7 separate regions of the Homo sapiens genome follow, and all the other regions are linked to region 5. Evidence: promoter capture Hi-C in human tissues and cell types (Jung and others, 2019). All regions are on one chromosome and are shown on one strand. Each heading gives the region's core, a stretch centred on a gene start or on the middle of the fragment in contact. The rest is flanking DNA. Distances are from core to core; before and after follow the strand shown. Region 1 has its middle 13 kb from the start of LINC01912. Region 2 has its middle 160 kb from the start of LINC01912. Region 3 has its middle 190 kb from the start of LINC01912. Region 4 has its middle 98 kb from the start of LINC01912. Region 5 holds the start of DSEL (dermatan sulfate epimerase like). Region 6 has its middle 220 kb from the start of TMX3. Region 7 has its middle 200 kb from the start of LINC01912.

Region 1 (4,057 bases), core at 1,073-3,572, 760 kb before region 5:
TATATGTGTATATATATATATACACATATATATACATATATATGTGTATATATATATATACACATATATATATATAAACACACACACCCAGGTACATATACACATATTTTAGTGCATAATTATACTGAATTGTGTTATATGTTATATATTTCATATGCTACATGTTGTGAACTCTTTAATAGAAAAAGCATTTTCATTTTGATTTTAGCATAGTCGTTAGACAAATGTAAGTGGAAGAGCTCAATGTCAAAGGAACATTCACAATTTAATGATTGCAATGGATGGAAAAGTGAGCCGTAGAAATTAAACTCATTGTCAGACTTCACATTTCTTTTTCCATTTGCATGTTTTCTGTGTCTGGGGTCTGAGATAAGTATAAATTAAGAAACTGAAATGACACCAAGCTTGAAGATTAACTGCTGGGATATAAAGTAATCAGTATGCAAAAATCAACTGGGCTGAATGAAATATATTTTCAACCTTCAAGGGTATTGTTTTGTTATCATAACCCTAGGACAATGAAAATGTGCAATATTAAAAGGATTTGTACTGCATAATTAATGAAAACCTTGGATACCAATTGAAAAAAAAAATGTCGGAATGCTTACCAGTGAATGGACCTAAAATTAGAGAGCCTCTCCACCTGGCCCTTAAGGGAAAGTTGAAGACAAATGTGAACTCGAGTATTATAACAGTGCCATTGGCGGTTCCCCACTGGATAGAGTTTACTAGTATCTTGTCTTGGGTAATTTTTTTTTATTTGCAGATTTAAATAAAGATACTAGCAAAACCCTGACTGAGCCTTTGTTTCCTCTTCCTCCCCCTTCCTCCAACATATCAAAGCTTAAGAACCCAGCACACCCAAGAAACAGAATGCAAGACACCCAAGAAATGGGGAGATTTTTGACAAAGCCTTAATTTGGAGCTGAGAGGCCATGAGTTTTATTCTTTAATAACCCTATAGAATTTGATGAAAAAGAACACCTCTCTAGACACACCTTGCACATAGACACAGGGGAACAGGTACCTATCCGATCTTTCCATTTGCACCCTAAGCAGATCTCAAATCCACAGCCTTGACTCTCTGGTACTGGAGCTGAGTATTTTCCACTTTGATGCCCTTAAATCAATCCTCAATAGGGTACTACAAGGATGTATCAATTCAAAATATTAAGACTTTTCCTCTTTATTGGCTTATAAAACCTAAGTTCCTTGACAGTATAAAAAAGGTCCTTATAATCTTTCCCTATACTGTCTCCAATGCCATCTTTTCAAGCTATTTCTTGCATGATTTTTTCAACACCATTTCAGCTTCTCTTTCCTTCCACATCTTCATGTAGTCCCCTGTCCTCAAATGAACCTCCTAATGTTCCAATTCTATTAATACTATGTTAACTCCACTCTTTATGACTCTTCAGGCATTGCTTTCTTTAAGAAGATTTTTTGCCCTCTAGGTCAAACATCCCTTTTCTGCACCCTCATAATGCCACATTTTTTTTTCATTCAGTTGTCACTTTATTGCAAGACGGTAGAATTAATTACAAATTTAAACTATAACCTGTTAATCTTTAGTCAGGCAGCAAGTTTTTATAAAGGCAAACTGCTTATTCAGAAGTGATCATGGAACAACTCAAAGGCAGAGCAAGAAGGATGAGAAACATCTGACTGGCCGATAGAGATTTCGTTCTCTCACTATATGAAACAAACTTTTCATTTTTAGGAAGGGTAAACTATAACTTCAGTAGACACCAACACAGAAAGACGTTGTCAAATAGACTAGTTTCCATTTAGTCAGTCAACTGTTTCTAGCTGTCTCAATTGGGATAGATACATTTACATAATTGGCTGTGCTTGAGCCTTCTTTGCCAGCAGCTTTAGGTCCGCAAAGGAATATATGTGATTAGCGCAGAGACCTTCACTGCCCTATCAGTACTAGGTGTAATGGTCTATGGAATTAAAAAATATGGTCCCTTTGTTGCAGACTTTGCTGATAAACTCAATGAGCAAAACCTTGCCCAACTAGAAGAGGCGAAGCAGGCTTCCATCCAACAAATCCAGAATGCAATTGATATGGAGAAGTCACAACAGGCACTGGTTCAGAAGCGCCATTACCTTTTTGATGTGCAAAGGAATAACATTGCTATGGCTTTGGAAGTTACTTACCGGGAACGACTGTATAGAGTATATAAGGAAGTAAAGAATCGCCTGGACTATCATATATCTGTGCAGAACATGATGTGTTGAAAGGAACAAGAACACGTGATAAATTGGGTGGAGAAGCACGTGGTGCAGAGCATCTCCACACAGCAGGAAAAGGAGACAATTGCCACATTTTTAAAGTAACTTTGTTATTGAAGTATACCTTGCAGACAGAATAAGACAAAAACAAAAACTACTAAGTGCGTAGCTTTAATCCATGCAACCAGCACTTGGGATGAGAAATAAGACATTAGCAGCACTGTAGAAGCTTGCCTCATGCCAGCTTCCGTTTACAACTCCACCCAAAGGCAACTACTGTCTTTAATTCTAGCACCATGAGTTAGTTTCATCTGTTTTTGAATAAGAAAATATGTAAAAGCTTGTGTGTTGAGCACAAGTTCTTTTTAAACAAGGATCACGTTTTTGTGTATTTAGCTAAGTGATGAATATATGATAGGTGAATGAACATATTCAATTTTCCTTCCCAAAGACAGACACATTTTCTGTTTGAATAAATTAATTTATTTAGAATACTGCAAAATATATTGATATGTAGCAATAGGAAGGCTTACAGTTGCATGCAACCCTTCTAAGAATAGATTTTCTAGGTTCTTTATGCTACATTCTTCATGTTTCTAAAATGTATTTTACATAGCCCTTCCTCCAGTGTCAAGTCATTTACCTGGACATTTTCATGAAGTGTTTTATTTGTTGCAGGAAAAAATACATGACATAAACAAAATAGTAATGGGTAGCTCTAAATGTACTGATTTAAATGGTATTTGAAAAATAATGGATTAAGAGTTTTAATGTCATCTTCCCTATAAAACTGAAAAGAAATTTAAATAGAAAGCATGATTTATGTTTGAATCAGATTAAATAGAAAGCATGATTTATGTCTGAAGAACTATTGTGAATCTGAGAATGAACCTTAATTTCAAGAAAACAAATTAGCCTGCCACAATTTTATGGAGGCTGACAGAAGACATGAGACTCTTGACCACACACAAATGACTTTATTATTCACAGGAATAACAATAACCAAGGTATCAGCATTTTGGGGGCTGTTTTCCTAAGTTCTAATTACCACAGTGTGACAAGAGGGCCTGTTAGCTAGGCATGGTGGGCTCATGCCAGTAATCCTAGCACTTCAAGAGGCCAAGTCAGGAGGATTGCTTGAGCCCATGAGTTCAAATCAGGTTGGCTAACAACCTCATCTCTACAAAATAAAAAATAAGAAAAAAAATATCTGGGCGTGGTAATGTGCACCTGTTCTCCCAGCTACTTGGGAGGTTGAGGTGGAAGGATCACTTGAACCCGGTGGGTGGAGATTGCAGTGAGCCATGATCACACTGCTGCACTTCAGCCTGGGTGACAGAATGAGATCCTATCTCAAAACAATGAAAAAAATTGAATTTAAATTAAAAAACAAAGATGGCCTTTGAAACCTGCAAATATAATGGATTACATTGCAGAAGAATCCTGAGTGTAAAGAGCCCAAGACTTTTATGATGGACAGTCAGCATGAACTTTGCTCTAGAGGAAGACACTGGCTCTATCTTCCATTGGTTCTCAGCAAACCTGCACTTCGTGGTAGCAGGAACCACTATCTCTATCTTCCAAGTATTAACATCCTAGAAAAGACAGTTTGGAACAGAGGCAGTCAATGTCTCTGTTTACCAGACATGTAGAAATGCAAGAACTCAACTGATCCTTGTTCCTCCCAATATATCTATCCCTAGTTTATACACTGCTTTGGATTCTGGTGAATTTTCCCATGAAAAACACCACTGTCAGTCACTCTGATTAACCTGCCTGAAACAGCTAAACCCAGATATGTTCATTGTGTCTTAGTAAA
Region 2 (3,694 bases), core at 175-2,674, 910 kb before region 5:
CATGTGCACACACTTTAATTTTCAGTATTTCAGATAACTGGATTATTAGTAGATGATGCTCTGCCAATTTTCACAAATATTGATTTACTGACACAGCAACATCACCTGATCTTCTTAGTAAAAGTAGTGATATGGTTTGGCTGGGTCCCCACCCAAATCTCATCTTGAATTGTAGTTCTTATAACCCCCAAGTGTCACGGGAGGGACGCTGTGAGAAGTGATTGAATCATGGGCGCATTTCCGTCATGCTATTCTTGTGATGGTGAGTCTCACAAGATCTGATGATTTTATAAGCATCTGTCACTTTCCCTGCTGGCACTCATTCTCTCTCCTGCTGCCCTGTGAGGAGGTGTCTTCCACCATGACTCTAAGTTTCCTGAGGCTTCCCCAGCAATGTGGAACTATGAGCCAATTAAAAACCTCTTTTCTTTGTAAATTACCCAGTCTCCAGTGTTTCTTCATAGCAGCGTGAGAACGGACTTGTACAAATAGATTGTGATGCCCTATCCACATTTACTAAATAAGAGAGTTTCTGGAATTAAAGCCTGAAAACTTCTTTTTCACAAGCTTCCCAAGAAATTACTGGTCACAGTCAGATATGGTAAATTATTCTTTATTTTTTTGAGACAGGGCCTTGCTCTGTCAATCTGGCTGGAGTGCAGTGGTGTGATTATAGCTCACTTTAACCTCAAACTCCTGGGCTTAAGTGATCCACCCGCCTTGGCCTCCCTAAGTGCTGAATTACAGGCATGAGCCATCGTATCCAGCATAAATTATTCTTAAACTGTGAAATTTGCTGCTCTTACTATGGATGTCAAAATTCACTTGCAGTCTTCCTCATAAAATAAACATGTCCAAGATAAATTATTAATAACTGCTAATGGTTTAGTGTTGCTATAAGGATAATTTGCATTTGAAAAAGGCACTTAAGGCCAAATGTCTTACACTAACAGAACAAATATACAATGTGAATTGTCAGAACTAAAATGTGCTAATAAAGAACAATATTTTTGGGAAACCAGCATCGCTGGTATGCCTTATAACCCACCATCGGATGATGACAGCCTCCTATTTATAAGGGAGAATTATATTTTAAGGAGAAAAGTAAAACATACATACATATACACACAGCATACATGCGCATGTGTGGTATGTAGAAATCAATTTTTAATTACTAAAGTTGTGATGTACAATGGAAGAAAGAAAATGTTTGAACAAGCCCATTAAAATGAAGTGGTTGAGTCACTGCAGAAATGAATTAACATGAGGTTGTGACTCATCTGCTGTCTCACTTTTCTGGTGGGGCAGCTGCTTACCATTAATGACCAGCAACAGTGAGGAGGGATCCATCTGCCCTGTTCTGGCACGAGGGAATGCACCACCTGTTAAATTTATAACTACAGCTTCCACAAATGAACATGAAAATGAAGCCTTCAGATTGGAAATAATGTGTAGCTTTTATGTAAAAACACCAAGATATTCAAACGTCTGTTTGTTCTCTCCACTTAGTGTTTTGAGTTACTTGAAAAAACAGTGCTAACTGTGAGATGAGTATCTTTGACACAATGCAAATTGTTAACCCAAATGTTCCATATTCATAAACTGGTTTCAGATTCATTGGAAACTAACTATCCCTGCTCCTATCCTGAAAAACGCTTGTGTGAAAAACAATGCACTTTTGTAAATCTGTGAGTGTCAATCTGATGTAACTGTTCTAGTCCCAGAGAAGTAATAGAATTCAATAAATACAAATAAGAAAATTGTTCTAACATTTTGAGATCATAATTTTCTCTGAATATTCAAGTTTATGCCATACAAAAATACCGGATTCTTACTGTTTTTCTTTTGCTTACCCTAATTAATGTTCTTTTCAGTGAGTAAATGTCTCATTTTTTCCTTTCCATATTTCCGTTTCTATAACTTTGATCATATTATCTTCTCACTTATCTTTACCTTACACCATTAGGCGTGTTGGCAAAGTCATAGTCAACCTCCAATCCCTGGCTAACCTCATGCCTCTTCTGTGATGAGATCCCAGAGCAATCTAGCTCAAGGGTGTTCCTAGTTCTTCTAAATATTAATATTAGAGGCTTCATTTTTTTCTGAATAAATTTGAATTTTTGAGTAAAATGATATAAACTTGGGAAATGATTTAAATGTTTATCAAATGCTCCTCAGTTTTCTATATAATGCAAAACTATTTTTTGTTTATTAAAGACCTAAAATTTAATTAATATGCATTGTATTAAAGTAAAAAGTAATTTATTACTCACAACAAAGCAAGAAGCATGAGCATCTGCATATTTGCCAGTTTCCTTTGTTTCCAAGAAGTGCCCAGATAAATGCTTGAACACATTCTACAGGAGAGGATTCCTGAGCTTATGGAACCCAAGTCTTTCAAAACCGGGAGTCAGCAGGCCTGATCTTTGCCACAGACAGACAACTTATTCATTATTCTAAACAGCATACATGGCTGCTCTTTGCTCCAGAACAAAGGTCAATTAGTACCTGTGCATTCAAGATATGCAGAAATGAGAGAGATCTACAGAGAATTATCTGACAACAATTTTCTCGACATTCTCCTGGTTTCTGAAGAATTTTCTCATATGTATGCTATTATATTAGTCACTCAGATGAATATGACCAACAAAAACTGAAACCACATCTGTTCAATTCAACTCAAACAGCTTTTACTTAAGACTACGACCACTATCAACACAATCCCAGATATCAGGATGAAGCCATCTGGCAGTATTGACCGCTGCTATTCCTGTAGGATCCCAGAGGCTCAACTGCAGAAATCTCATTGGAGTCTATCCTAGAAATGCCGGTAGTTTTCTCCTAAAATTTCTCTATTGATATTTCTCCTTAAACTTTCATATTAATAATTCTACTTGGCCTGAAATATAAACCAGGTGCGGTAGGAAGTATTAGAGATTGCATAAGACAATTCTACCATCCATAACCTCCCTGACCTGTGACTTGAGGATAGTCTGGTAGCCTTCCATTGTCAAGGTGGCGTAATTCATTACGTTAGATAATGTCAGAAATACCTGTATTCATACTCTTTTTAATTAGAGGACTCCCATGTAAGAATAAGTTCTCACAGTGTAAGCACAAATTATAGTCATATACAAGTAAGTGAAACATCTAAATATCCTCCATGCGTATGCAAAGTTAGTCTCATTTTTGAGATCTGCACAATCATATTAGATGTACATGATCTATTGGTCGTGTTTTCTTAAACACTTGAAGATCTTTATTGCTACCCTTAGAGTGCAAGTCACATGTTTTTGGGAGGGAGGAAAGGTAGTAACTGGCTTCCACACAGTAAATATTCTTGGGGGTGCACATGATATCCCTGGGGAAAAATGGCTATCTATTATTGTTGGGACCCCTAAGAGGGACCTACATCAGTTGAGGTGGGGGACAGATATTGACTGTCTCCGACGTGACATCTTGGCCAATTGGTAGGCTTTAGAATCTCAGTTCAGTTTATTTATTATTATTATTATTTTGAGACAGTGTCTCACTCTGCTTCTCAGGCTGGACTGCAGTAGAGCAATCTCTACTTACTACAACCTCCACCTCCTGGGCTCAAGCAATTCTCCCACCTCAGCCTCCCAAGTAGCTGGGATTACAGACACAAATCACCAAGCCTGGCTAATTTTTGTATTATTATTATTATTATTAT
Region 3 (3,979 bases), core at 1,126-3,625, 930 kb before region 5:
TTCTTAGCAGTATAGCAAAACTGTCTAACTCTAACTTGACTTTAGGCTCGTTAACTGGATTAAAGATGGATGTGGTCTTGTTGGTATTGCTCAGTTTCTAGTATTTTATTTTATTTTATTTATTTTATTTTATTTTATTTTATTTATTTTATTTTATTTTATTTTATTTTTTATTTTATTTTATTATTTTATTTTATTTTATTTTATTTTATTTTATTTTAATTTTATTTTAATTTTATTTTATTATTTTTTGAGATGGAGTCTTGCTCTGTCGCCCAGGCTGGAGTGCAATGGCGCGATCTCGGCTCACTGCAAGCTCCGCCTCCCGGGTTCACGCCATTCTCTTGCCTCAGCCTGCCGAGTAGCTGGGACTACAGGCGCCCGCCACCACGCACAGCTAATTTTTTGTACTTTTAGTAGAGACGGGGCTTCACTGTGTTAGCCAGGATGGTCTCAATCTCCTGACCTCCTGATCCGCCTGCCTCCGCCTCCCAAAGTGGTGGGATTACAGGCGTGAGCCACCATACCCGGCCAGTTTCTAGTATTTTAAAGGAATTTTGCTTATAATTTGACATTATTCCTGAGACTATGTTTATACTGTAAAACAGGTTTAAAATGTTAACTTCACATTAGGTCCTTGTATTAACTTCCTATGGTTGCCATAAAAAAAAGCCAAAAACAGAGTATCTTAAATAGCGGAATGTTTGTCCTACAATTCTAGAAGAGAGAAATTAAAAATCAAAGTGTTAGCAGGGCCCTGCTTCCTCTGAAGTCACTAGGGAAGGATTGCTTTCATGCCACTCTACTAGCTTATGATAGTTGGCTGGCATTCTGTGGCATTCCTTGGCTTATGGCAACATAACTCCAATTTTCACAGTGTGTTTCTTGAGTGTGTGTCTTTATCCAAATTTCTTTGTTTATGAGGCTATCCCTCATATCGGATTTGTAGTCTACTCTTCCATAGTATGACCTTATTTTAACTACATCTCTTATACAATCGCACTATTTCCAAACAAGGTCACATTCTAAGGTTCTGGGGATTAGAACTTCAACATGAATTTTGGGGAAACACAATTCAACTGATTAATCTTCATTTGAAGCCAGTTTATAATGGGACATACTTATATTTGTCAAGAATTCAAATTCTTAAGAGTTGTGAAAAACAGAAAGTCTACTGCAATTTTTTTTTGTCAATGTAAACCAAAAAAAAGAGTTAAGAAGTAGTAAAAGACAATAAGCAATTACTATGTTAAATCAAAAGTTGGAATCTATAGATTTGTTTTCAATTTCAGGCTTTTCATTGATGGAATACAAAGAAAATAATAAAACTTCTCTCTCTTTGCCAGAGAAGCTTTTTATGAAGAAGTTTGAATTTCAGATTTTTTATTTTATTCATGTTTTAAGCTAAGAATGTTTATGCTTTGAAAATGATTGTTTTTCCCTCTTCATTATAAACTAAAATTGTCATTCTTGTTCAACACAGACCTCTGTGCTGGAGAGATACGAGGTGTATTCTACTTCTATGGTTCAAAGGGTATTTACAGCTTTTCAGTGTCTACATAATACTATACAGTAGCACAACAAAAAATGGCATAGATTTAATTTAAAGGGAGAACATAAGTGTTTCATTTAAGAATACTTCTGTTATACACTGTTCAGAATTTAAAGAAAATGAAGGAAACATTGTAGAGGAGGGAAATTCTATTTTGAATAAAAATTATGCCAAAAGTAATAAAAATTTTGCCTTGTATCTCTTGATTTTAAATATATGTATTTGATTGGAAAGAAAAGAGGTGGCTTTTATTTTACATAAAATGTTTCTAATGCTTTAAAGACCAGGTTTTTAAAATATGATTTTATAAAGTTAAATTAGCATAATTTCATTTTGTTTTATTTTGTTGTTGTATATTGATGGAGGGGGCGGGAATTTAAGAAAATAATGGCAAGGACATATTTTGGATAGCTAACATAAAACCAGACAAATATATTCTTATATAGGTAACTTAACCAACATTTATGAGCCCCTACATGGGCAAGTCATTGTGTTGAAGTCTATGATCATTGCTGTAAACTGTGGGTTGCAATCTAGGTGGGGGCTATACAATTTATAAATAAACAACTACAATACAGGGCTGCATTTAAAATATACAAGGAGAATATTAAATTTCCACAAGTTTGGGGATATCAAGATTTTTTTTTTTATCTGAGGAGATCAGAGAAATCCTCATGGCCATTGCTCTTAGTGGGATTTATAGGCTGGGTAAAATTTTAGTAAGTAATGATGAAGAGATAACATTTCGAAGGACTAAACAGCATCAACTATAGTCTAGAAATGAAAAAGGGAAAGGGCTGAGAATGTCAAGAAATATAATTTTCTCTAAAGGTCAGAAATTGATGACAAGACTCAAAAGAATAGAGGGTGAGATAAAGGTTACAAAGGGTGGGGTAGCATGTTTAGATTATATTTTTTAGCATGACACAGAAGATGCTTCTCATACAAGGGTGACGTGTCAATTAATTTTAAAGATTATTTTGTTGGCACTTCACATGACACATGGGATTGAAGGGGTGAAACTTTGTTGCTTCAGTCAGTACCCTGAGCGTGGAATTAAAAACTTTAATTTGGTTGATGGTAATAAAAAAAGAAAAGAGGGACAATGGGTTCTTCTTTTGAACATATATGATTTAACTTGGCCAAACTCATTTATTTATTCAAATATATCATATGGACTTAGCTAATTAGCATATCATGCATTAATACAACTTGTATTACAAAGTTCTGTACCTCAAGGAATTTCTGAAGTTACTTATTCAGATAATTTATCTAACTGGTGATGTTCCTGATTGTGGAGGACATGAGAATGTGCCGCATAAACTTCTGATTACAAGGAGCATAAATGATGAAGAACAACAATTGCCATGCTTCTAATATCTAAGCTCACATTGTGACAAAGTTATGCTTCCGAGGAGCTACTTCCAGCCAGTGACTGTGCACTATGTATTTACAGAAGGCAGACCTGTTCCTGGTAGACAAGTGCATTCTCCAATGGTCAACTGTGCTGCAAGAATTCCCTGGTGGTTTTGAACTGTCTGTACACTACACTTCACAGCAGCCTGGAATACTCAACACCCAACTTCTTTTCCATTCTTGTTCTCTCAGGTTTAGACTTGGGTCACGATCTGACAGGTTTCCTAGCCTTAGCCAGTGCCTTCTCTATTTGATCATACAAAGACATTTTCCTTAATAAAATCATTGTATATTTAGTCTTTTCTTGGCATTGGTTTCTCAGTGGACCTAGATGAATGTGAGGGTACTAGAAGTCGTTTAGCAAAATATGAGGTAAAATTAGATTTGGATCTGGCTCTTATATTACATAGTAGGGAAATAAGGCACTGTCTTGGTTGCTAGGTGGGGCACATATTGTTTTTGGCACAAGTCGGCAGCTCAATTGCTAATGATATCACTGGAGGTGTTCTAAGAAAATGTCTTGATGTAGGCAGATGCTATGGCAGGTATGACACAGACATTTGAAAAATATGGGGAAGCAGTGCTTATACAGACATATACTGATAGAGAAATTGGCTGGTGAACAAGTTGTACTGATACCTTGCAGAAGGATAATGAGAGACTAAGAGCCTGTTAACAAGTGCTCAATGGCTAAGGCTGAGAGCTAGAGAGCCTCTGTGCTAGCATAGAAAGAGGCCCTTATTAGCTGTAGCTGAAGATGGAGACAGAGTTAAATGGAAGGCTGAAGGCCTAATTATGAGAACCGTATAGCACAAAACATTTTTAAATAAGAAAGCAACATAAGTCTGATGTTAAAAGTTCAGGCCTCTAGTAGGAAAAATCTGGAATCCTTTAAACTGGAATAAGATGCCCCTGAGGATACTGACTCTACTGCCTTGACTCCATGAAACTTCACCTTCCCCAGAAAAGGTTAGCGCATCCATTGTGTTTGAAGATACTGGAGAAGCCTCT
Region 4 (3,624 bases), core at 783-3,282, 850 kb before region 5:
ATTCCAGAATATTTATTTAATTTTCATAACCAATAGAGAAAATACACACAGGCCAAATTGTAATTAACTGTGATTGAATATCTTTCATGTATATGTCAGATCAATGCTATGTATCATCAGTCCTCTTATAATTACTATTTTTAAAAAGTGGTGAGCACTTCTTCCTTCTAGAAATGACTTTGTATTTTTCTCACTTCATCAGCCACTTGTTTTCTGTCACTTAAAAAGCTCAAGGTCCTCCCAAGAACCTCTAAATTTTAGAAATCACAGGGAAAATCCTGTTTTTTTCTATTTCTAAATATTTACATTTTTTCTATGTGCTTTCATACATTTTCATGGCCTTAAGCATCTGCTAAATGCTCATAATATACAAACAAAACAAAATCATAGCCCAGACCTTTCTACTGAATTTCTAGCCTATATATCCAACTACCTACTTGGGTTATCTTAGGACGTCTTGTAACTTTCAAAAAATATTATACATAACATGTCTTCAACCCCTTTCCATACATATTCCTCTACCTCTGCTGATCCATCCTTCATCTCTCATCCATTTTTCTTAGTAAATGGTACTTTCCTCTATCCATTTGCCCAGAATTGCTCAAAAATGGAAATCATATTTTAATTTTCTATAATTTTCCCTTACACATATTGGAATGGTCACAAAGCTTATTAGACAGAAGCTGTAAAATATACATTAAATTCATTATCCACTCATTCAGCCAATATTTTAAGCACCACGTACCAGACACTGGATTAGGCAGCAAAATATACAATGGTGAACAAAAGACACAGGATCACTGCCCTCATGGACTATTTATTACAATGGCAGAAGCAGAAAAATAGTTCATAAACTAATATAATATTTCTATAACCTAATATTGACACAGGATTTTTCTAGGTCATTTTGCGAACACAGGACCTCAAAGACCAGCAACATTGTCCCTCCTGGGCCTCGTTTGGCCACTGGAGGTGCCCCACCCACTCGACCTGCCTGTGCTACAGCTTGTAGCTGAGTTCAGCCTCACTTGGCCCTGGGCTGCCACTGGAGGTGCCCCACCCACTTGACCTGCCTGTGCTACAGCTTGTACCCACGTTCAGTGGTTCCCAGACTCCTGTCCTGCATCCAAGAAGAATGAGGATACACTGACAATTGAAGGATGAGGATGGGCGGAGAAGAATTTTATTGAGCAATAGAACAGTTCTCAGTGGAGAGGGGATGCAGGAGGTGGTTCTCCACTCCCACCATCAGGTGGTTTCTCTCCCAGCATGGCTGAGTTCAGGGCTTTTAAGGGCTTAGAATAGGGGGGTGTGTGCTGATTGGTGGTGAGTATGCAAAGAAAGGCTAAAGCAAAGGCATCACTCAAAGGTGGGCACAGCAGTGTAGAAAACCAACTAGGAAAGGGTAGGAATATGTAAAATAGGTGAAGAGTAGGGATCAGAGGAAAGTACACCAAATGGGAAGACAATCTCCACTGGTCTGTGGATTTACCTGGGACTTTTAGCCAGGCTTTAAACTGCCTTCTGCTTGAAGTTGGGGTTTCACGTGGGACCTGACCCTATCTGCCTAGGCATTTGCCTGGCTCCTGCTGCTATCAATTCCTTCCTATGAAGTGGTACATCTAACTGCCATTGGGATAAGGATCATGACCGATCTTAACTACTTTTTGCTGACAGGGTACACTGTTTTGGGAAGACAGCAGTCAGATCTCCCTTGGAGGCCTATCTAAGGGTCCTTGGTAGAAGAGAGCGATCATCCAATGTTCTGGTTGCATGACCATTTGAATTTGATGGACTGAAGGCTAGAAGAGACAAACTGAGTAATTAAAAAACATGGATTGACATGGAACAAGGGGTAAGGACAGTTCAAAAATCCTGAGGATGCCAGCATGCCCAGTTACCTGCTAAGACTTGGGTGCCTGGAGCTTTGCTTTGGTCAGCTTGTTTGGTCTTATTTTCCCAAACATAGTAATCTCCAGGTTATGGGTTTACCCTCATCACCTGGCAGAATTTGCAAGATAATTGCCCAGAATTAGAATATTAATCCAGATTTTTACATTAGACATCCCTTTTGTTCCTTCTGAGCTGCAGCCAGAAATCCCTGGTTGGTTCACAGGTATAAGCAAGTTCAGTCTAAAATGCAGACAAAAGCTTAAAAAATGCTAATGAGACTAGATTTTAATGACACATTTATGATAAATTTTGAAATGTAATTTTTCTCTCTCCAGTATTCATTTTTCTTAAAGACAAATCATAATAGGTCTGAGTTGTTTGCAAAATAAACTTTAGTCTTATCCTTGACCTGATTATTTGCATAAAGAGCATCAAGAATCATTATTTTCACACAGGCTTTTAAAAAATTGGCTTTGCTGGAACACCACTGGAATCTCAGATAAAATTTTTTAAAGCCCAGCCCGGCCATGGGTTTGTACCCTCAAATACCTATGAGTTGGATACATTTCTTTTTTCTTGAGGATCCAAGAGAACTTGGGGCACCTGGGCCCGTGAGAAAGTTACAATCTTTACTTATCACCTGTTAGGAAATCTGTACAGGGACTGTGTAGACAAGGTATGATGCCAGTTTTCCCAAGGGGCTTTTATTGGCTTGAGAAGTGAAGCTTGGTTCCTGAAAGGGAAGCACACCCTTCCAGCATTCCAGTGAAAGCTTTGGTAAAACCACTAGTTTCTTCAATTGTATCTTGCTGCTGCAAAAAAATAAATAAATAAATAAAAATAGATTCTTATTGCAAGTATGCAAATAATTATATTGCCATAATTTAAGAATACTCACATATAGCTTCCAAATTTTGGAGAAACCAGGCAGAGAGAAACAAATATGCTCCAAATCTTGTTCACAGAAGTATACCTTACTCAATTGTTAAAAGCTGTAATGAACTCAATATAAAGGTTTTCCTCACGTTGAAAAACAAAGGATCAACAATGTTTAAAGCAAAAAGTTAAAAAGGATTACTTTAGTTTTCTGTAAGTTCAGTCCATTCTGTTATCTCTTGTTCTGCTTGATATTCATGAACATTTTAGCTCTTCATTTGTCCTGTACGTTTTTCCTCTATTCCAATGTCACAATCTCCAAAGTTATCAGAAACGTGTGTTTGAGAGTACCTGTCAAAGACCTATAGCTGTTTATAAACCATTTCTATGAGGATCAAAGCAAGACAACAATTGTGTGTGAATGACAAAATGTCCAGGGTAGTTACAGTTAAAAACATGATTGACAAAAAGATTTGGTTATTTCTGTGGTTTACAATAACTTACCATAATAACCTTAATTATGATTGAGAGCATATATTCAGACATTAGAATTTTAGAAATCTCATACAATTTTAGTACATATATTAATATTATTCACTAAAATATGAACTCAGAAAGATTAAACCTTGTTTTCATCTTGGCAATCCCATGTAATTAAACATGTCAAATAATCCTGTTTGCCTCTGTTTTGTATGCTCTAGGGCACTTTGTGGCATCCAAAAGTTAGGGGTCGGAAAAGACAATTTTTGAAGCTGAAATTTTATTTTAGGAAGACTGTTAAATTTGTTAAGAGGCTTAAAACACTTGATATTGTGAAATAGAATTCCAGATTACTGCAAATCATTTATTTAGCCA
Region 5 (3,944 bases), core at 220-2,719:
GACCTGGATGATCAGATAATTTCAACAGTCAGAAGAATTTTAACTAGTAAGTGGGGTGGTTGGGTAAAGGACACTGTGAGGGAAAGAATGGAATAAGCATAGTTACTGAAGCACCCAAGCAAAAGCAAGTGTGGCTATTTGGACTGGGCTAGGGGTTACTACGGGGCCAAAACAGAAGAGTGATGAGGAGTTAGAGGCCACATTTCACCTCAAAGTTAAATGATTTGAAATTTATTCTGCTAGCAGTCGTCTACTGTTTGATTTTCAGCAGCAAATGATCTAAGCAAGACATTTATTTTTAAAATGTTAAAATATATCTTATTAAATATTACCAAAATAGTATGGGAAATGAAGAGACTGAATGTGTTACTAATCCCCAACTGAGAATGGAATTGTTCATTTGTGAAGCTTGATATTTCCCTGTATTTTTATTACTACTAAGCTATTATTTTTTACATTTGAGGTCAGAGCTTGGGTTGGTTTATGCCAAAGTGTCATCTCAGCTATCTGTGAGAAGCTCCATGTGTGGAGTGCAACAGGAGTCCCAGCCTGCTCTAGGATTTCCACGACCTGGCACTGCACTCACATGTCGTAGTAGCCGGGGCACACTGCCTTCTCCTGTCTGCATGTAGGTCTTTACCGAATACCAGGTCCCATTTTTAAATAAGAGGCTCCTTCTACTTGTTTGTCCCATGCTTCCCCTATTTATACTGCCTGAGAAATTGTTTTCCATCAGTAAAGCTGATTAGTCTTTTCTGTTTTCCCTTGATCTTTGTTAGCATCTGGGCTACAGAAGTTGTCCTCCTATATTAATCTGGGTATTTCGGTTTTGCTTTTCCAAAGGACAGCAAGCTCAGCCAGGCTGCCTCTCAGTTCCAAGGGAGTGCTCATTCCCTCCTTCCCCAGCCCTTGCTCTTTCCAAAAGGATGATTTCTGTCGTCCCAGGGCTTATCCCCTCCCACTCCAGCTCCTCCCATCATTTGAGTCAATCCCACAGCCCCCACTATGGCTCTATTATATAGTTGTCGTCTTCCCATAACCAAAAGGTTTTAACGCCAGCCTGGCAGCGTCTTTAGACTCTCGCACTCCCAAACTGTCCCCTCCTCCAGCTCGACTCCTCCGGGAGCGCGCGGCCACCGCTGCAAGCCCAGAACACAAACGCCTAGAGCTTCCTCCGCTTAGAAACCCGGGGCGCTTGGCCCCGCCTCACCTGCTTTCGGCCCCGCCCCGCCCGCCGCCGGCCTGCTCACGGCTCCTCCCGTCCTCCCCGAAGCCCCGCCTCTGACCCCGCCCTGTCCTGTCTCCGTCCCGCCCCACGCCCGCCAGCCAGCGTCGCTGTCTCTCGCCTTCCCTGAGGCCCCGCCTTCAGCCCCGCCTTCAACCCCGCCCCGTCCTGCCTCCGCCCCGCCCCCGCTTGCCGGCCCGCGTCGCCGTCTCACCCTCCCCGGGCTGCGCGGCCGGAGCTGGCACAGAGGATCCTCGGCCGCGGCGACATCACCGCCTGGGCACGCGGGCGCTGCTCTGGATACGGCGCCACCGAGAGAACCCGCCGCCCGCGGGTCTCTGTCCTGCGGTCCGTGGTTGCCCCCACAAGCGTCCGGCGTTTCCTGAGGGCGGGCGTGTCCGGGCCGTGCGGGTCGCGGGGACCGAGCGCGGCTGAGGAGACCGAGCTGGGGCAGCGCCTGCCGTAGCGCGGGAGACGACGCGGGGGTCTTGCGGAGCCCCGCGGGAGCCTGGCCCGCCGTGCAGAGCAGTTTTCTGGAACTCTCCACCTCCGTCTCCCTTGGGGCCCAGTGCGGCGCCGAGCCCCCGTCGGGATCTGCCTGAGGTAAGCGGACTTGGTGGCTCAGGGGTCTCTCGCCATCCTGCCTCACTCAGCCCCAGAGCGGGGAGCGGAGAATGGGGGCGGCAGGGTCGGAGGACGCCAGTGAAAAAATGCAACAGGCGGGGCGGATCAGGAAACTCCTAGCCTGAATGTTTCCTACAGAGGGGAGACTTGTCCAAGACTGAAACTTGCTTAGGTTCTTCCAGCCGCGGACGGGCACGGAGAGGCGTCTTTCGACACCGGGGTCCGAGCTCCCTCTGGCGGCTCCACCTGAGGACAGGGACTCGGCCACAGGTGAGCGCCGAGCGCGGAGCTCCCGCCCCTCGGCTTGGCGCCTGGTCACGATTCGCGGTTACCCCGCCGAGAAAAGTGACTGGTCCGAGTAGTTCTCATTAGGAAGATACCTTCTGATCCCATGAACTCTAAACCTTCCCCCGGAATTAAAAAAAAAAAAAAAAAAAAAGATCTTTTCAACTTTCAGTTTTTTGTCCCTCGGTCCTTGGGAACAAGAAATAACAAGGATAGCAGGACTCATCTTTGTGTAAACTGCATTTGAATACAAACATTTTTTAAGTGACTGAAGCCACGTTAGTGGCGTTAAACTATAGATATTGTCGGGAGAGTTCTATCTTGTATATTTTGTATTGTTAGTTGCTTGTCTTCTGCTGACGGTCACTGGTTTCCAAATAAGTGCGTGTAAATGGATAAGAAAAAAATCACTTGCCCTAGCTTAGGTTGCAGATAATATGAGATTTTACTGTGATTCTAAAATTTCTATTAAGTGATTGCAGAATGTTTAAGTCATCAGTTTATATTCATTCTCAGCATACCTGAAGCCTCAGAGAATTTTTATTTTGTCCCCCATCCCCAGAAAAGTGTCATGAAAAAAGAGCAGAAGAGAGACCTCACTGTTGCTGAAAGGGGAATTTTCTTTCCCCGTTGGCGGTTACTTCATGATCGGACGAGAAGTATCTAGGTGACTGAAGATATTCCATTTTTATGTTTGTACACATGAAGCTGATAAAAGAAGATGTGAACATGATTTCTCTTTGTCATAATAGGCTGATGAGTAAGTAAGCCTGAAAAATATTTGAAATGAAGGCAAGAATTTTGAATTTTTAAAAACCAACTAAGACTTTGATCACTTGTTGAGGATGTTTCTCTCTCATAAATGAAAGAAAAACGTATTCACAAGACAAGAAGTATAAAAAGTTGAGAGGAATGACAACTGAGTCCACTCACTCGAAGAATGTCAGTACTTCATCATCTTCTTTGGGCAAACATACACAAATGCATCATACATGTGTGGTGAGCTTATCACCAGTGATGGTTTTCTGTGCTAGAAATGACTCTTAATTTGAATTTTGGAGTGCTTTTTCTCTTTTTTTACAATGTGTGTTCCAACTCTTTGTGTTAAATAGATTTAAGTAAAGGAGGTAAATGCTAAATTCATAGTGTTTTTTACCTGTATCACTTCCCTGTGTATTATGGAAAAATTAGAGATTTTAACGTTATTCAAAGTTTTACTGGAAGCAAAACTGTGCCAGGGACAGAGATATACAATTTAAGTTTTCTCTTTTTGGCAACTGCACTTGCTTAAAATGTACTGAATGTCAGCTGGATTTCACAGCATATCAGATTTACAGTCTTTGTCTTATCAAGGCCTTTACTGTATGTTTTATACTAACCAGATGGGAAACACATTGAGCATCATATCTGACATGTATGCCTAAGGGAGGAGCTCCCCCATGGATCATGGCGTTAATGTTTACAGGACATTTACTATTCTTAGCATTATTGATGTTTGCTTTCTCTACTTTTGAGGAATCTGTGAGCAATTATTCCGAATGGGCAGTTTTCACAGATGATATAGATCAGTTTAAAACACAGAAAGTGCAAGATTTCAGACCCAACCAAAAGCTGAAGAAAAGTATGCTTCATCCAAGTTTATATTTTGATGCTGGAGAAATCCAAGCAATGAGACAAAAGTCTCGTGCAAGCCATTTGCATCTTTTTAGAGCTATCAGAAGTGCAGTGACAGTTATGCTGTCCAACCCAACATACTACCTACCTCCACCAAAGCATGCTGATTTTGCTGCCAAGTGGAATGAAATTTATG
Region 6 (3,569 bases), core at 901-3,400, 980 kb before region 5:
GTGTTTGCTAATTGGTGCTAATTATTGAGGTTAGACTTCTCTCTACAGAGGCTGAGAGACAGTGGAACTATCATTCTTGATGATTGCATTTTAAAGAGGTGACTCTCAGGTCCTTGTGCAAGACATTCCTGAATTTGAACACTGAAGAGGCCAGGGGAAGATTTTCATCTCCAAGGGGCAGAGAAAGGGTTTGCAATGGCAAGTTTTCTAAAGTAACTGGTGCAATAATAAGGAGGTCAGGGGCCTATAGTCAGGAAGAAACCTCCTTAAAGTTTAGTCAAGCTGAGAGGGATGTTAAGGCCACCTTGGTCCCTGCCACGTTGGTTAGTTCTATCAGCTTAGGCTGGATAGCCTGGTAGTTGTGAAAGCAGAGAGAAGTGAATGTCAGCAACGAGACTAAGTATCTAACAAGGTAAAGCAAATCCTGGCACTGATATCTAGCAATGTTAATAGCAAGGACGCCTTTCACATAAACTTATAGAAACAAAGGAAAGGGACTCGTCTTTCTCTTTAAAAATGAATATTTGAATTAAAGGAGAAAAACCACTGAGATTGTTAACAGCTGAAGTTACACAGAATTTCAAAGGCAAGAGACATTCTCAAAATCCAAAATCTGCAGCTGACTATGCAGCAGGCATTCTCTGACTCTCAAAAAAGTTTACATTCATTATTCATTCATCTGTTTTTTTCACTACTCTAAGGAATTTATTTTTAATAATCACACATCAGATATTATGTTTAAATGTATTAATGAATGATGGAAGTAACAAGATGTTGTAATAAGTTCAAATGACAATTCAATTCACTCATATACTGGGAGGAAAAAAAAAGCTAAAATGAATTTACAAATAGATGCAACCCTGTTCAATATCCACAGAGTGATAATGAACAGCATTTTGTCGGACAAAATTTATTTGCATTATAAGGGCAAGTTTGCGTAATTAATAGTTTTCCACAAATTACAGGTTAGTTAAGTAGCTCAAAGACAGTTAAAGGAGTGGGTCCCTATAGCATCAAGTATGCTAGACAAGGCACACAGTATCTTTTTTACCCCTAATGTTTCACAATTTTTGCTGATAGGGCTGCTCTCTAAGTAATATACAGTGAAATTTATGTTAAAAGCATTGTTAAGGTCATGAGCAGTGGCTCACACCTGTAATCCCAGCACTTTGGGAGACCAAGGCCTATGGATCACTCGAGGTCAGGAGTTCATGACCAGTCCGGCCAATGTGGTGAAACCCCGTCTCTACTAAACTTACAAAAATAAAAAATAAATAAAAAAATTAGCTAGGCGTGGTTGTGTATGCTTGTAGTCCCAGCACTTGGGAGGCTGAGGCATGAGAATCACTTGAACCCAGAAGGTGAAGGTTGCAGTGAGCCAAGATTGCATCGCTACATTCCAGCCTGGGCAACAGAGCGAGATTCCATCTCAACAACAACAACAAGAAAAAAAAAAAAAAAAGAGAGAAATGAAATTGAAAAACCCTGTACAGGAGGGAGGAAAATCATCCCAATCCTAAGCTAATAGTTATTACACATAACAAGTAAGACACATAAAACATGGTAGGCATATAGTTCTCCTTACTAATAAAAGTAGTTTCCTTGCTAATATCAACACAAAACAGACTTCATACGTGTGCTATTTATTTTGTGCTTTGCCACATACCCTGAGCATCTTTGCAAACAGCATCAAAACTTCTTTGTTGCCTTATCTCTGCCATTCTTTGGTTTAGGTGTTGCCTGTATTTAAGCTTTCCCTACATAAACCATTCCCTTATCCCTCCCACACCTTCCCACCCTGGTCTTCTTTATAATGCTATATTTTCTTGGAATATTCTATTTTTAATTTGTTATACAGGCACTGAAATGTTATCCTTACTGGTTACTTATCTTTACATTTTAAGCCATTATTGTGATAAGCTAGTATTTGATTTGCCATTGCCGCAAATTCAAACCAGAAAAACAATTTTTTTCTGTAGAGTATGTTCCATTGGGTTTGGATAAAGAAGTTTTCTAATTCTGTATAGATGAAGTTTCTTGAATAGCTCTTATATTTACATTTTTAAAAGACTTTCAGTGTAGATGAAAGAATAATTACAGTAGAGCATTTTCATATACACTTGACAATAAATACCTATTTTTTATTAACACTAACCTTGGTATCTCTTTTGGTGATTTAGCAAAGGACTCAAAGCTTGATTGTGGGATAAGGAAAGTGTATCTTAAATGCTTCTCAGGGTTACTTAACAAAGGGCACACAAACTAGTGAGTGAATATGTTTTTGTTAAAATAAGTACAATTTTTAGAGCACAATGACACAAGATAACTATATCTTTCTAAAAGTTTCTTTTTTGCTCTAATTGCCGCTATTTTCTTTTATCTTTATTTTTCTCCTTAAAAATCATTTTTTTAAAATAAAATAATAATACATGTTTATTTTAGCAACTTAAGCAATGAAGAAAAATGTCCCTTTTTAAATCATTAGGCATGCTTGGAAATGCCAATAATAGAAAAACCTACTGCAAAGATTTGAATGTCTTTCTTTCCAAAATTCACGTGTTGCAAACTTAATCCCCAATGCAACTGTGTTGGAAAGTGGGGTGTTTGGGGAGGTGTTTAAGTCGTGAGGGCTGTGCTCTCATGAATGTATTAATAGTGCTAGGAAGATGGCTGGTAGGAGTATGTTTGCCCTCTCTTTTGCTTCTCTAACATGTGAGGACACAATGTTCATCTTTTCCTTGCCCTCACACCTTCTGTCATGTGAGAATGCAGTGAGGAGATCCACACCAGATGCTGGGAGCTTGATCTTGGCTTCCCAGCTTCCAGAAGAGTGAGAGAATAAATTTCTGTTCTTTAAAAATTTCCCAGTCTCAGATGTTCTGTTAGAGTAGCACAAAATGAACTAAGACTTCTACTAATAGTGACCAATAGGAATTTATTTTCCTCCTATACCCAGAAGCCTTCTGGTAAGCAGTGGGCAGCCTTGATCATAGCTGTAGTGCAGAGGTGATTCCTTAGGCATTTTTTATGGCTATGATGTAATTGCTGAAGTTCCAAGAATCATATTTCAGTGTAGGGCAGAAAAGGAGGAGGAAAAGCAGAGCCAGCTGTTTCTGTCTCTTTCATCCTGAAGCCAAAAGATTTCTTGGAATTCCTCTAGCTGACTTTCCCTTTGCCTCATTGACTAGAACTTGATTACGTGGACATAGCCAACTGCAGGCCAGGCTTGGTAAGTTACTTTTGATTTTGCAGCCAGTACATTGGAAGGAAGGGAAATGGAGGGTGGGGGAGTGAGGAATGGCTTTTGGGAGGCCTTCCATTCTTTCTTTCAGTCCTGCTTCTCTGGTAGTAACCCTTTGATGTGTAGCCCTCTGCATATATATTTATATATACGTGCACACACACAGACACACGTGTGCTGCTATGCACATATATATATTATAAATTATTTATTTAATTTTTTTTTTTTTTTTTTTGAGATGGAGTCTCAATCTGTAGCCTAGGCTGAATTGCAGTGGTGCGATCTCGGCTCACTGTAACCTCCATCTATGGGGCTCAAGAGATTCTCG
Region 7 (3,976 bases), core at 1,326-3,825, 950 kb before region 5:
CTCCCTGTCTCTCACAGTTTCCCACTGCAGCATTAGGGTTTGGGGACAGGTAATTTCTACAGGTTTTCCATCTGAAATCATATGACTGAATTCTTCCTCTTTTACTTACTGAGCTATTTCTTCTATGGTGTCTGCCATCACCAAAATAGAGTGTTTCATTAGGGCATAGTCCTGAGAGGATTAGAACAACTTCAGGGCTTTTCTGCTGTCAGCAGCCTTGTCAACAACCAACTGAGACGTTAGTTTAGCATTGATTGAAGACGCAAAATCTCCTCCAGCATCGATGACTAAAATAAGAAAGTCCCACACTCATCGTGGCTGGTTTTTCTTTCTTTTTTCTTTTCTTTTTTTGTTAACCCAAGTAAATTACTTAATGCACAAAGTATCTTTACAAACCTTGCATTTTCTAAGCAATATTTATAATAAATGATAGAATGCTGTTCTAAAATGAAAATAATTGCTAGTATTTATTGATCATGTGGTGTGCTAGGTAGAGATGTTGTTACGTGAGTTCCACATATTAGCCCACTTATTTCCTACAGTCACCCTCTAAGTTAAGGACTTTTTACTCATTTTATAATGGTTAAATGTTAATGTGGAAGACACACGATCGCATTGTGAGTCTACAGGAGTCAGGTGGATACATGAACCCAGGCAACCTTGCTCTGGAGTCTGTGTTCTGCTCCCACATTTTCTCTGCAGGAGCCCAGGCTGAAAATTTCTACTTAGAAAAATCCTATTATCAAGGTCCTCTGTCAAAAGTTCTCACTTATTATCTTTCTTTTTATATCCAGTACTTCACACACACAGAAATTACTTAATGTCTGCTTTTAGCTTTTGGCCTGGCTGGTCCGATGATGCAACTTTAGAATTACTGAGAAGCCTTATGTGTGTCCAGTTTTTAAAATTAAATTTCCTTTAAAGCTAATAGCCTTTTCTTTTCTTCTCTTCTCTTCTCTTCTCTTCTCTTCTCTTCTCTTCTCTTCTCTTCTCTTCTCCTCTCTTCTCCTCTCTTCTCTTTTCTTTCTTTCTTTCTTTCTTTCTTTCTTTCTTTCTTTCTTTCTTTCTTTCTTTCTTTCTTCTTTCTTCTTTCTTTCATTCTTTCTCTTTTTCTTTTTCTTTTTCTTCAGAGGAGGAGTCAGTTCTGGCCCATGCTGATTCTTCAGTTAATTCTCATTAAAGTGAACAAGAAGTTGTTACTACAATAGTTTCTTCTCTGGTCCCACAGCTGTTTCCTTCCCTGTTGCTCTTAGACATTGCTCTCCTGTCTTACCTGCTTTATCTTTGCATTATTAACATATCCTATAGAAAGCCCTGTTCCCTTTGCTTCCATAGCTCAGGACGTTTTTGTTCATGACCTCCATGGGGAATTTTCTGCCTTTTTGAATCCAAGAGGCAGCACTGACTGTCAATCAATGGCTATTGACATGCTGCTTTCTTAAGGGACCAAAAAAAAAAAATCACTTTTAACAGAATACAAATTTGGAAGACAATTATGCATAACTACCTTTTCTCTGTACTTCTAAACCGACAGTAATGGCATTTTAAAAGTGGATTCCTGCAGAGTGACTGCTTACAAAGAATGAACCATAGACAATGAAATGACAGACCATCAGGAGAGATATTCTTGGGCAGTCAGCCTCTTTGGTGTCCCTGAAACCATGCTATATGGATGCTCTTTTTTTTTTTTTTTTTAGCAGACTTTGATAGAATACCTGTGAATAAAATATTTCAGATTTTTCAAAAAAGCCTGCCAGTTCTATAGGAACCTCTATTTAAACCAAAAATATATTGTATTATGACATTTTAACTTTGTATCTAAGCTAACAAAGGAAAAGGGATACAAGTGGGATTTAATATACTTAGCATAGGTTGCCTGATTTTTTGTTCTTAATACTGAAAGGAAAAATTTTTATTTGTGAAATCTTCAAACCAGATGAATAATCCATAGAGACATGATTTAATTTCTATTAATTAATGTTTTAAATGGGGCCCAGAATGTTGTAGTCTTAACTTCATGGAAGAAAAGTTTTAGTAAAATACAACACTACTCATCTGGATGATAAGATCTGTTTTTAATTCAAAAGCCAATTAATACTTCATGTTTTTGAAATTGTTTTATGTCTGAAAACATGTATTTTTTAACATAAATTGTAACTTCATTCATAGTTTTAACATGACTCACCTATATTCTTTTTAAAAGAGTCTTTGAATGACATTCATGGTGTCAAATTGTATGAAAAAATTTGTATGAATATGAACTGTCTGGATAAAAGGTTCATAGCTTTGAAAAGATTCTGAATGAAACCTATGAACTAAAAGCTAAGAACTAGTAAGCTTGATGAAGAATTCCTAAATCTTTATTTACAGTTCATTCCAATATTTGGTTTCTTTCCCCTCCACCAACTCTGAACTACATATTCTCGGGCTTTGTCTTAATATGATTTCATTACAATAAAAATAAATCTAATTGAGCCATATTGAGAAAGGGCATCCATTATAAAGAATCAGGAGATTTCACAGAACTCACAGACAGGAAGTACAGCCGTGCTTTGAGAGAGACTGGCACTCGAAACTGCTTAAGCCATCAGATAGGAAGGTGTGCTTTCATTTTCCTCACCACTGCATGTCTGCTCTCAATGCGTTTCTATTTTGCCCCACCCTCCATGTGTTAATTCATCTACTTCAGCATGAATGAGGTTCACTTCTCAGAATCAATGGCAAATATCTTTATGGGCCATTGTCCTGCATCAATAGCTCATTAACTTGACTTTCTAAGTATCAATTCTCAATTTCCAGGAGAGAGAACAAGACTAGTTTAACAGATGTTCACCACTAGATCCAGGTTGTAGGGTTACATGGTGTTTGCTCATGGGGCTGTGAGGCTAAGACTCACTCTGAAAGACATCTTTAGCACAGTCTAATTGTCATATTGATAACATTAATAGGGTAGGATTAAACCTGTAGTAAATATAGGAAATTAGAATCTAGTCAGAAGACTTTGAGATCCATCACATTCAATGCGAGTCGTTGAACAGAATCAAATTTCTATCTCATATAAAATCAAAGTGAATTATCACCATTATGAAGTAAAGACTCAAGAATCTCTGCAGAATTTTTTTAATCTAACATGTATTTTATTATTTGCTGGGTGACACGCACTAATGTAGGCCCTGTCAATAGATCAGTAAATGTGACATGTAGACTAAAATACAGAATTTTAATGACTTGCTCAGAGTGTAGCAGAGAGTAATACAACTACAGCAAGAACAAAACATGCTGCCCTAAGTGTTGCCCACTTCATCATTGGTGACATTTTCTACTTATTAAACAGACACTATACACTGCAATCCTGGGGGATATCACAATCATTGTTTGTAATTTACGGAAATCAAGAATAATTATCACCTTCCTCAAATAATATTGTGGTGTATTTAAATCATATTAGTAGGGGAATACTAAACATCTACTTCTGAACAAGAGAGTGTAAAGGGAACCTGCCATAAACAACTAGATCAGGGGAAAAATATATAGGAAATAACTATTTTCAAACATTGTACAAAAGGGAGCACAAGACTGTAGTCTCTGATAAAAAGGAAATAAATTAGATTAACCCTATAATTACTTCAGTTTTCGATCTGGAGTCACTTTCTGGATTGTAGTGTAGGGATAGGGGACTATTCAGAAAACAATATTCTCAGTCAACTAACATAACAGAAATGAGAACAGTGGGAGGTGAAGAAAGTCATCCTGGAAAAGAAAACTATGCAGAGAGAGCAGTCCAGAAGTCTTCATGCTGTTCCCTGAGTGTTTGGCTGAGTACTCAGCTGTACCACATGTAAGGTGAAACCCCATAAGTTGCCTATGAACTCAACAATTCCCCTAGCTCATGCAAAATTGGAAATGCGTGAGTTCTGATGAGTCAAGCCAGGGAGACCATGTTGAATATATGGGAGCATTAATGGGGATCATGCCT

What was found. The method cuts DNA at HindIII sites, captures the fragments that hold promoters and counts their contacts. A contact is called where the count stands out against the background at its distance.
Region 1: a contact is called between a fragment that was not itself captured here and the fragment with the promoter of DSEL in region 5, in 4 of the 25 tissues and cell types used here (H1 embryonic stem cells, lymphoblastoid cells, mesenchymal stem cells and 1 more).
Region 2: a contact is called between a fragment that was not itself captured here and the fragment with the promoter of DSEL in region 5, in 1 of the 25 tissues and cell types used here (hippocampus).
Region 3: a fragment that was not itself captured here is called in contact with the fragment with the promoter of DSEL in region 5 in 2 of the 25 tissues and cell types used here (IMR-90 fibroblasts and lymphoblastoid cells).
Region 4: a contact is called between a fragment that was not itself captured here and the fragment with the promoter of DSEL in region 5, in 3 of the 25 tissues and cell types used here (heart right ventricle, mesenchymal stem cells and mesendoderm cells).
Region 6: a contact is called between a fragment that was not itself captured here and the fragment with the promoter of DSEL in region 5, in 1 of the 25 tissues and cell types used here (mesenchymal stem cells).
Region 7: a fragment that was not itself captured here is called in contact with the fragment with the promoter of DSEL in region 5 in 1 of the 25 tissues and cell types used here (dorsolateral prefrontal cortex).

The regions. Positions count from the first base shown.
Region 1 is chr18:68,276,071-68,280,127 of GRCh38, reverse strand. No RefSeq gene overlaps it. Among named protein-coding and RNA genes, the nearest start is that of LINC01912, 13 kb to the right of the region's middle. The HindIII fragment of the contact is 3,395 bases long and covers 625-4,019 here.
Region 2 is chr18:68,425,906-68,429,599 of GRCh38, reverse strand. No RefSeq gene overlaps it. Among named protein-coding and RNA genes, the nearest start is that of LINC01912, 160 kb to the right of the region's middle. The HindIII fragment of the contact is 4,712 bases long and covers 1-3,694 here.
Region 3 is chr18:68,449,776-68,453,754 of GRCh38, reverse strand. No RefSeq gene overlaps it. Among named protein-coding and RNA genes, the nearest start is that of LINC01912, 190 kb to the right of the region's middle. The HindIII fragment of the contact is 8,525 bases long and covers 1-3,979 here.
Region 4 is chr18:68,360,502-68,364,125 of GRCh38, reverse strand. No RefSeq gene overlaps it. Among named protein-coding and RNA genes, the nearest start is that of LINC01912, 98 kb to the right of the region's middle. The HindIII fragment of the contact is 4,045 bases long and covers 10-3,624 here.
Region 5 is chr18:67,514,245-67,518,188 of GRCh38, reverse strand. It overlaps DSEL (dermatan sulfate epimerase like), which reads left to right and starts at 1,469. Exons shown (of 2, transcript NM_032160.3): 1 at 1,469-1,828; 2 at 2,697-3,944. The coding sequence starts at 3,581. DSEL-AS1 (DSEL antisense RNA 1) reads right to left here and starts at 1,643. Exons shown (of 5, transcript NR_033921.1): 1 at 1,440-1,643. The HindIII fragment of the contact is 11,831 bases long and covers 1-3,944 here.
Region 6 is chr18:68,494,539-68,498,107 of GRCh38, reverse strand. No RefSeq gene overlaps it. Among named protein-coding and RNA genes, the nearest start is that of TMX3, 220 kb to the left of the region's middle. The HindIII fragment of the contact is 3,382 bases long and covers 460-3,569 here.
Region 7 is chr18:68,466,784-68,470,759 of GRCh38, reverse strand. No RefSeq gene overlaps it. Among named protein-coding and RNA genes, the nearest start is that of LINC01912, 200 kb to the right of the region's middle. The HindIII fragment of the contact is 3,476 bases long and covers 838-3,976 here.